3 separate regions of the Homo sapiens genome follow, and all the other regions are linked to region 1. Evidence: promoter capture Hi-C in 16 types of primary human blood cells and fetal thymus (Javierre and others, 2016). All regions are on one chromosome and are shown on one strand. Each heading gives the region's core, a stretch centred on a gene start or on the middle of the fragment in contact. The rest is flanking DNA. Distances are from core to core; before and after follow the strand shown.

Region 1 (2,700 bases), core at 31-2,530:
GGGGAAGATGAATGAAAAAGAGGCACAGTTTTTTTTGCAGTGGAGTGTCAGGGATTTTTTATTCTCTGCTTTCCTCTCACGTGAAATGTATGCCAAAAAAACACAAATCTTTAAAAAAGTGTCATCCACTGCTCTGTGAAATCATGATTAATGAGTAAAATACTGTCTGAAATGTACAATAAATGACCAATAGTTAAGAATGTGAACTGGAGAGGGGAAGTTGGCCTTTGGAAATGTCGGGAAGGAACTGGAAATTTAATATTTTATTGCAAGCCCAGTTAGACTGGGGGAACACAGTGGTGGACTTGAGACTCTGCGTGCTACACGTTAGGAAAGCGCAGGGGGAAAACCAGTTCCCCTGGGCAGTGTTAAGATGATTAATGAGCAGGCGATTATACGGAAGTGGTTATAGTGCCCCAGGTTTCTAGGGAGAAAAACCAAAACCAAACTCAAATGCTTTTCTTGTAAATTACAACTTTAGGGGAAAACAAAATTCAGACTTAACGAACCACAAAGCTCCAATTCACCTCCACCTGCATAGTCTAAATAAGGCAACTACAAACTGTAACCCATCGGTTAATTTGGTCTGCTTCCTCATGCACCTTATAAAAACCTTTCCTTCAAGCCCCTCTGGGGATCTCCGAACCACAAACCAGGACTGCAGGCTTCCCATGTCACAAATCGCTATTTGCTCAAATTCTTCAACGTTTTAACAGTGACTCCCTTTAATTCTTAAGAGGAGTAGTGACTGAGGACCCCACAGGGCACGGTTTCTTCCCACACACCGAACCTGGGTCTCCCCTGAGACGCTCCCGTCCTCACCGCACAATCTGGGGGAGACGCGGGGCTGCGACGCGGAGCTGCCCAGAGAGGGCTCCGGCCAGGGACGAGGTCGCTCTGCGGGGTCGGGATGGGACAGGACACGCGGGGTCCCGGCTGCCGGCCTGGCCGCCATCTTGCAGCGGAGGGGACCGAGGGCCGAGCTGCACCAGTTGGGACTCGGGGCCCAGACCCCGAGGCTGACTGCGGGGAGGCCCGGGTGCCCCTACAGCGGGTTCCCGCCGCTTCCGACCACCGCCCTCCCTCCCTCTGGGGACCCCCGACCCCGCACACTCACCATTTCCCAGCTTCCGGGATGCCCTGGCGTCTTAGCTACGAATCTCCCAGTGCCTGCAAGTCGCAGAGCAACAGAGGTTCTGTTTATTCTCAGAACGCGAAGCCGCCTGGGCCTCCCAGAACGAAAGACTCGGAGCTGTGGCGAGGAGACCCGAGCTCTAACTGGAGCCGACGAAGGCCCCCGCCAAATCCCGGAAGCCGCCCCTGCTCTCCGGCTTCACTCCTGATTGGACGGTTTCCACTCCAGCGCCCCTGATTGGATAAAGCTCCATGCCCCGCCCCCTCATTATTAGTGCCTTTTTTTTTTTTTTTTTTGAAAGGGAGACTGGCTCATTGAGGTGGGGCCGCCTGCTGCGGGTATTACAGCTAATTAAGGGGTGAGCTGCGACTTGAAATACACTTGCTCTTTCCCTTACCTGGTTCTGCTTGTATAAGACATCTTATTAGCTAATTAAGTTTAAGAAGAAGTATATTTAGACACCTTTAAAGCAAGAAAGACCCTCATCCCGTCCCTTAGCACCTCTCTTACCGCACTGTACCCCACTGCTAACGCCACCGTGGGAGGGGGCCCCTCAGCTGGGAACAGAAGGCCGTACACTTCATTCACGTGTTTTCAATTAGGCCCTCGCATGATACATAGACTGAACCAGTGCAAAAGCATCTTATAGGGGCATGCAGGCTGGGGTCCCAGGAGGATGTTGCGGGCCGTGGTGGAACGTGGAAGAGGGGCTGGCCTATTCTTCTAATCTACAACTCTGCCCGCATCTCCTGGAGTCTGCATCACTGGTAACGGGGCCGCTGACTGTCCGTCTGTCTCTCCTTCTCAATCCCTTCAAGCTCAGGGAAGAAGGGTCCTTGGCAGCGACAGGGCTGGGAGCTCAGTTCCTCTGGGCCGTGCTGGCTCAGGCTCTGTGGCCACGGACTCCTCAGCCCTACCTCTGGTTTTTGCTTTTGTTTTGAGACAGGGTCTCACTCTATTGCCCAGGCTGGTGCAGTGGTGCAGTCATGGCTCACTGCAGCCTCCGGGGCTCAAGCAATCTTCCCACCTCAGCCTCCTGAGTAGCTGGGACTACAGGCACATGCCACCATGCCCGGCTGATTTTTGTATTTTTTGTAGAGATGAGGTTTCACCATGTTGCCCAGGCTGGTCTCCATCTCCTGAGCTCAAGCGATCCTCCCACCTTAGCCTCCCAAGTAACTGGGGCTACAGGTTAATAGTCAGTTCGCCAACTCCTGAGCTCAAGTATTCTGTCTGCTTTGACCTGCCAGAATGCCCTATTCCTGTTTTTCTGGAGTCTTGGAGCTAGTGGCGCTGCAGCACCTCGTAGTCTTCCGGCTGAGTAGATTCTCCTAGTCTTCTGGCTGAGTAGAAGGTGGGAGAGGAGGTGGGTGTCAAACTGGGCCAGGGCCCTCGGCCGCCATCTAGCTTGGTTAAACTCCCACTTGGGACAGATCAGGCTCTGTGCCTTATTCAGTGAGACGTGTGGAACAAATGCTTCCCTCCCCAAAGCAGAAACATCCCTGATTGCTGACAGTCAGGATTCCATGCACTTGTCTTGGCCTGGGGCATGGCTGCCTCTCACC
Region 2 (3,003 bases), core at 210-2,709, 1.1 Mb after region 1:
TTTGAAACAAATGGGTGTCAAAACATGAATTGCTCTATAAACCAAGTTAGTCAGAGTCTAAAGCCTGTGTTTTTGTGCACTGCACTTTACTGCCCAAACATGAAATCCATTTCGTGAGAAGTAGTAAGATAGGCAATTCAGGGGCCCAACACCAAAGTCCCCTCCTCCCCAGGACTTCTCCCAGAACTTAAGCTCCCCAGATCCCAGCACTCTGGTCCTACCTCTCAGCTCTGATGTCCCCGGCTCTGGGAGAGGAGTCCCATCACATGTTGGCCCCTCCTGGGTCCCAGGTGCCTCAGGCGCTGAAGACAGCTCCCCCTGGCTCTCATGGCATCGGAGAAGGGCTTCCACAGTTTCATCCAGCTGGAAGGAGAAAACATCAAAAATGTTATGAATCCCTTAGTGCTTTCCAACATGATACTCCTTTCCTAGCAGGGGAATCTGGGGATTGGCAGCTGAATCAAGGCCTGGTCTTTGAAAGCAGAAGGTATCCACCTGGGCCCAGTAGCGATTGACGATGAGGAGTGTGGCATCATCTGTGGCCTGCCGCTTCTCCAACTTCTCAATTCGTTCTCGGAGTTCATCTTCACAAGCCTGCCGTTGTTCCAGCCGCTCTGCCAGTTTCTTGTTCTTGAACTGTAGTACCTTCAGGTCCATCTCCTCCTACCAAAGGAAACAAAGGGGCCGACGAGAGCGTCAAGCAGGGCCCACAAACCAATCACAGAGAGAGAAAGAGGAGCAGAGCATCTGCAATGCATGGGAGATGGAGGTATTCCCACACTAACCGCTAACAGAATCTAAGGAGGCTCAGACAACACACAGCGAAAGTGTCTTTGTTGTGAGGAGGCTCACGTTGTTTCTGCCTGTCCCCTTGTAAATCCTTAGTCTTTGACAAGTCACACGCCCCCTGGAAACCTGTTTTCCTATCTGTAAAGGGAAGACAGGCGTCGTGTTCTGAGCTTCTTTCTAACCTTTCTTTCAAGGTCCTGTAACGCGGACCTTGCTAAACTTGGGGAAGTGGGTGTAAGATTCCGCACAGTTTGGCCAGAGAACAGAGGGAGGGCTCTGGGAAGTTCTGAGGGTTAAGGCAAGAGCCCACGAACCGTGGAAGAGATGCCTCCAAGACGAATGGGCTCGATAAGAGTCGTGGTGGTCTTCTCCTCACGACTCAGCTTCTTTTCCGGGGGCCCTGAGCCCCCGTCGCCGGCGGCGCGTTTGTTGCCTGGCCCAGACATGGCCGCGGCGGCTGGAGCGATGCAGGGTCCCCTGAGGGGCGTCAAACGGGAGGAGGCGGTACTTCCGTCACCTGCAGAAGACACAGAGCAGAGATGTGGGAACGGCTGGTGTTCCACAGCCCCAAACACCCTCCACCCTGCACACACCTGCTGGATCCCGTCCCCCCCGGCGCCAGAGCCCTCACCAGCAGGAGGGTCAGCCTAGCGCCGCCATCTTGGATTTCACCGGACGTCACTGGGCGTCACTGGACGCCACTGCCCCCCCCCCAACGGTGCGCAGGGCGCAGGCGCCAAAGGCAGCCCCGGATGTGAGGAAACTTCTTTATCTTCTGCTTCTATTGGTTACGCTTGGTCCCGCCACTCGGGTCCTCTGGCTTCTTCCCAAACACCTCCTCTTTCTCTCGGTGATTGGCCAAGAGGCAGTTCCCATAGTAACTGACACCGCGCTCCCACTTCCCAGCCTGGAGGACAGCACCGGCCCTCGTATTAGCAACCTGGAAGAGAGGGCGCCCAGGTGGGCACTCGCAACTTCTCACGTATCTGCGCGTTCTCTTCGCTCCCACTGGCGTGAGCCTGCGCTTTCCGCCTTCCTTCCCTCACAAGCCCCCTTGGCAACCGTCGCCGTTGAGACGGAGGGAGACGCCCCCACGGATTCGCCCCGCCGCGCCTCTCCGCGCGTAGATTGGCCGGAGCGAGGCGAACGGGCCCGGCCTTGGTAGCCGCCGACCGAGCGCTGGCTGTCCTGGAACCTAGGCGGCGGGAGCCCGGGGCGCCTCGCGGCACGGAAGAGCGGCGAGATGCTCAACCGCAAGACCAGCCACTTTTTGGGAATGAGGGTGCAGTCGGAGCTTGAACATCTCTCCGAGCTGCGGCGGGAAGCGGGGAAGGATCGCAGCTCAGTGCATGGGTCGGCCGCGCGGACGCGTGCGAGTGTGCGGACTCAGTGGACGACGGCGGCGGCGGCGAAAGCGGATGAAGACCCCGGAGCCAACTTGTTTCCGGTGAGGGCGGGACAGTCTGGTCTGCTCGTGAATATTTATAAACCGGCTCCCCCGCAGGCGCCACCTGTCATTATGCTTACTAACGTTCGGGACGTCTCCCGGGCTGCTTGGGCGAGGAGAGGCAGGGGTGTGTGACCCCGGTGGTTACTGTGCTCGCGTAGAGCACCTAGGGCCTGCTGAAGCCCTCCCTCGCCCGCGCCTCTCCTTAGTCCTTGAGATGAGATGGCAAGTTACAGCGGCTTCTCCGGCCTGCTGGAGATTCGCTACGGGCCAGGACACCGCAGCTGCCTTCCCCAATTCGCTTTCTTTCCGCAGCCGCCGCTGCCCCGACCCCGGATCTGCATGTGGTGAGTGTGAAGAGACAAAAATTACACTGAATATTTGCGTTCTTTATTGTCTCCCCAACAGTCCTGTCTGTGGCCAGGGCATCCCCATTTTACAGATGAGACTGAGGCCTGGAGATGCAATTACTCCAGGTGACTGGAAGTTGGCTTTCCAGCCTCTCCAGTCCAAAGAGGAGGCAGTGTGAGAAAAAAAGAGCCAAAGACAGAATGTAAATGGAGTCTCATGGCCGCTAAGGAGTATTGTACAGAGGGGGACACTGAGGGCCACAGGGAGTACTTGACCAAGGTCATACAAGGTAGTGGCAGAGCAGAAAAAAGAATTCAAGATTCCTAACCCTAGGCTTTAGAAATGGAGAGGCTCATAAGAGTTCATTTAGGCCCAGAGAGTTAACGATTTGCATAGTCACACAGCAAGCTGGCAAA
Region 3 (2,905 bases), core at 141-2,640, 1.2 Mb after region 1:
AAAGTATTTTTAAAAAACCAGAAATAACACTGAATAAAGAGAAACACAGAAATTACAGGTTACATTTCTTGAGCACTTACTATGTATAAGATACTTTTAGTACCTGTTTGATGTGTTCTATAATCCTCACACCTACCTTAAAAACCAAGTGCTTTTCACAGCATAACAAATATTGACTTCCTCCTACACACAACGGATATAGCCATGCAGAAAGGATTCCCGACCTAAATGTAGCTTACATTCTAATATAATCTGTTTTGTAAGTTACGAAGTTAAGACCTTATGATTTGCGGAAGGTTACACAGTAAAAAAGTGATAGGAGGGCTTCAATCCACAGTCTGATGCCAAAACCAAGGAAAACCTGCTACTCTTCCTGGTAGAGCCAGGTTGACCACGTTTTCCTCAACCCACAGCCTCAGTTCTGTTGTTGTACTATAATCAAACCCTCTACAGAAAAATCACATGCAAACATTCCCATGCTTCTCTAGAGTGAAAATCCCCAATACGGACCTATAATTGCTTTATCTCAAACATTTCTCCCATTAGCATCAGCACACAAAATGGTAGCAGATCCCTCACCTGTGTGAGCTGAGACCACACCCCCTGTGAAAGTCTGCACTTCCACGGTGCCGCCGTACTGAAGGGAATCACACCTGAAACATCCATCAAAGCGTATTATTTACTCCAGTTTTTTGAGACGTTTAAATATACCCAAATCAGTTAAAAGACTAGAAACAGAAAAACTACAGTAGTAGGAAAATCTCACATTTCAGGGAAATGCAAATCATGTTTTGTGAATTCCGGAGGGACATACGATCCTGCCTGGGGGCAGGAGCAGGAAAGGAGTGAAGAAAGAAAGTTCAAAAATTTTAAGTGTAAAGGCTCCAACCACAGAATGGAAGACAAAAAAAAAATACAGCAAAAAAAAGCTGTCACATCCAGAACCTCAGAAAGGTGCTACCTGCCTGCGGGCCTTTCCAGTGAGGGCTGAACGCAGAAGTGAGAGTGGAACTCCCGGGAAGAGTCAACAAACAGGCTGGTCACAGGAAAATCCGCCCAGGATTCAGGGCAGGGCGCTGTATATCCCATACCTGCGCCTTGAGACACTTCCCCAAATACAAGAACCACAGCAAAAGGAGACTCAGGAGCAGTCAAAAGCGAGAGGCCGCACTGCCAAGAACCACGCGCCGGAAACAGGCAGTGTGAACCCGCAGGAGGCCCGGAAATGCTTCCCCAGTGTTTAAGGAAATTCCTAAACCACAGTGCCGGCTTTGATTCACTCCCTACTCCGCCACACGTTCCCAAGACCCGAGCTCACCAGAAGCCAACAAGCCTTAACTCTTGACTTCAGGTTTCGTGACCATCTCCCTAGCCCTCCCGACGGACTGACCTCGCGTGACCCCTGACCTCTGCCCAAGTTGCCACTAGCCCTGAGATAGCCCCGCCCCCTCCAGACTCCCACCCCACCCAACGTGCGCGCCGGGCGGGGGAGGGGCCCGCGCGTGCGCGGCTGGAGGCGGAGCGAGCCGGCTGCGCGCACGGCCCAGGGGCTCCCGCCAGAACCCGAGCCCACGCACACAAGGGTCGCGGGGCTGGGAAGCTCGTCATCCAAGCCCGTCAGGGAGCCCCCCCATCACCCGACCGCGAAAGGCTGAGAGAAGGGAGGGTTCGTGCCACCAGGTCCTGGTCCCCCGGCTAGATGTGGTGGGCGCGCGCCCCGACTACTCGTCCCACGCCCCCCTTCCTCTTCCCGCGCGCCCCTGAGGGGTGACTGGGTTGGTGGGCGGGCAGGAGCGCACCTGGGTCCGTCCTCTCAGGGCTCGCTCGCTCGCTCGCTCGCTCAGGCACGCGTGCGCAGAAGGGCGGGAAGGGAGAGGAGACACGCCGGGGCCCAGCGCCGGCCGGCCTGACCCCCTCAGTCTGTCTCTATGGGCGCGCGCCGACAGCCTCGCGCACCGGCCCCGGGGCCCCGGCTGAGGGTGCGCGCGCAGCACCCCGGGAAGGTGGGGGGGAGGCGGTGGCGGAAAGATGCGCGCGCAGTCAGCCGTCATGGGAGGGGGAACTGTGGGGCGTTCGCCATCTTGTCTCCCTCTCCTTACCTGCGTCCTCGGGGGCGTGCGCACCACCCCCCCTCCCGCCTAGGAGGGGGGAGGGCCCCCTCTTGGCCACCGCCTTCGCGGCCTTTAAACTCCCCTGGAGACTGCGGCTACTGCCACCGCCTTGCCTCCACTGCCTCTTCGCGCAGCACACAGATGCGGACGGTGGGTGGGAAAAAGGGCAGACGCTACTCCCAGCGAACCGCCGCTGCCGCTCCCGAGGCCTCACCAAAATGGCCGCCGCCGTCTCGGCCGCCACCACCACCACTACCACCACCACTCGCTCGGAATCGCTATCGCCGGCGCGGCCCGTCTTCTCGCGAGAGACAGTAACTGGAGGGTGGGGGAACGGGGAGGCTCGCGTGCTAGCGTAGGGTGCAGCACGGTGCGCAAGGCAGCCTGGGAGGTGTAGTCTCCCAGAGGCTGCGCGCTCGCCCTTCCTCGGAGCGCCTTTACCGTTTGCCCCTAGATCTACCTGGGGCTGCATTGCGGCTGCCAGCTCGGACCACCGCCACCTCCCTTTTTATTTACAGATCACCCAGTAAGCTGCAGCAAGTTAGCAGTGGAACCTGGGCCTCCCGATTCCCATGGCAGCCCACTTCTGTAGCGCTGCTTCGTTTTACGCGAGGATGGTTTCCTGATAGCTTTCAAACACCTTTGCCATCTCTTCGCAAACTTTCTAGATTAAGAATCCCTTTGAGAATCTGATACCTTTACCCCAGAATAGAACAATAAATAACAGCTACCTTCTACTGACACTACTTGGTGCCTTGATTATTTCTTTTAATCCTAACTGCTCCATTTTACAA

Evidence for each region. Contacts are between HindIII fragments. The CHiCAGO score rates a contact against its expected background, and 5 or more counts as called.
Region 2: a contact is called between the fragment with the promoter of RNF40 here and the fragment with the promoter of ZNF267 in region 1, in 10 of 17 cell types (fetal thymus, non-activated CD4 T cells, naive CD8 T cells and 7 more). The highest score is 11.6, in fetal thymus.
Region 3: the fragment with the promoter of SRCAP here is called in contact with the fragment with the promoter of ZNF267 in region 1 in 1 of 17 cell types (fetal thymus); the score reaches 5.1 in fetal thymus.

The regions. Positions count from the first base shown.
Region 1 is chr16:31,872,387-31,875,086 of GRCh38, reverse strand. ZNF267 (zinc finger protein 267) reads right to left here and starts at 1,280. Exons shown (of 4, transcript NM_003414.6): 1 at 1,118-1,280. The coding sequence starts at 1,120. RefSeq lists silencers at 999-1,078, 1,229-1,278 and an enhancer at 1,165-1,459. The HindIII fragment of the contact is 12,710 bases long and covers 1-2,700 here.
Region 2 is chr16:30,760,778-30,763,780 of GRCh38, reverse strand. It overlaps RNF40 (ring finger protein 40), which reads right to left and starts at 1,459. Exons shown (of 20, transcript NM_014771.4): 1 at 1,421-1,459; 2 at 1,104-1,306; 3 at 496-663; 4 at 222-363. The coding sequence starts at 1,235. It overlaps PHKG2 (phosphorylase kinase catalytic subunit gamma 2), which reads right to left. Exons shown (of 10, transcript NM_000294.3): 10 at 2,605-3,003. CFAP119 (cilia and flagella associated protein 119) reads left to right here and starts at 1,719. Exons shown (of 9, transcript NM_001014979.3): 1 at 1,719-2,236; 2 at 2,552-2,583. The coding sequence starts at 2,033. RefSeq lists enhancers at 1,141-1,250, 1,371-1,630, 1,118-1,755, 1,711-1,890, 2,481-2,630 and 2 more and a silencer at 2,167-2,396. The HindIII fragment of the contact is 4,015 bases long and covers 1-3,003 here.
Region 3 is chr16:30,697,656-30,700,560 of GRCh38, reverse strand. SRCAP (Snf2 related CREBBP activator protein) reads right to left here and starts at 1,390. Exons shown (of 34, transcript NM_006662.3): 1 at 1,319-1,390; 2 at 580-653. It overlaps LOC730183 (a long non-coding RNA gene), which reads left to right and starts at 1,501. Exons shown (of 2, transcript NR_144637.2): 1 at 1,501-1,680; 2 at 2,630-2,854. RefSeq lists silencers at 1,370-1,599, 1,740-2,149 and enhancers at 1,319-1,613, 2,270-2,459, 2,490-2,579. The HindIII fragment of the contact is 7,629 bases long and covers 1-2,905 here.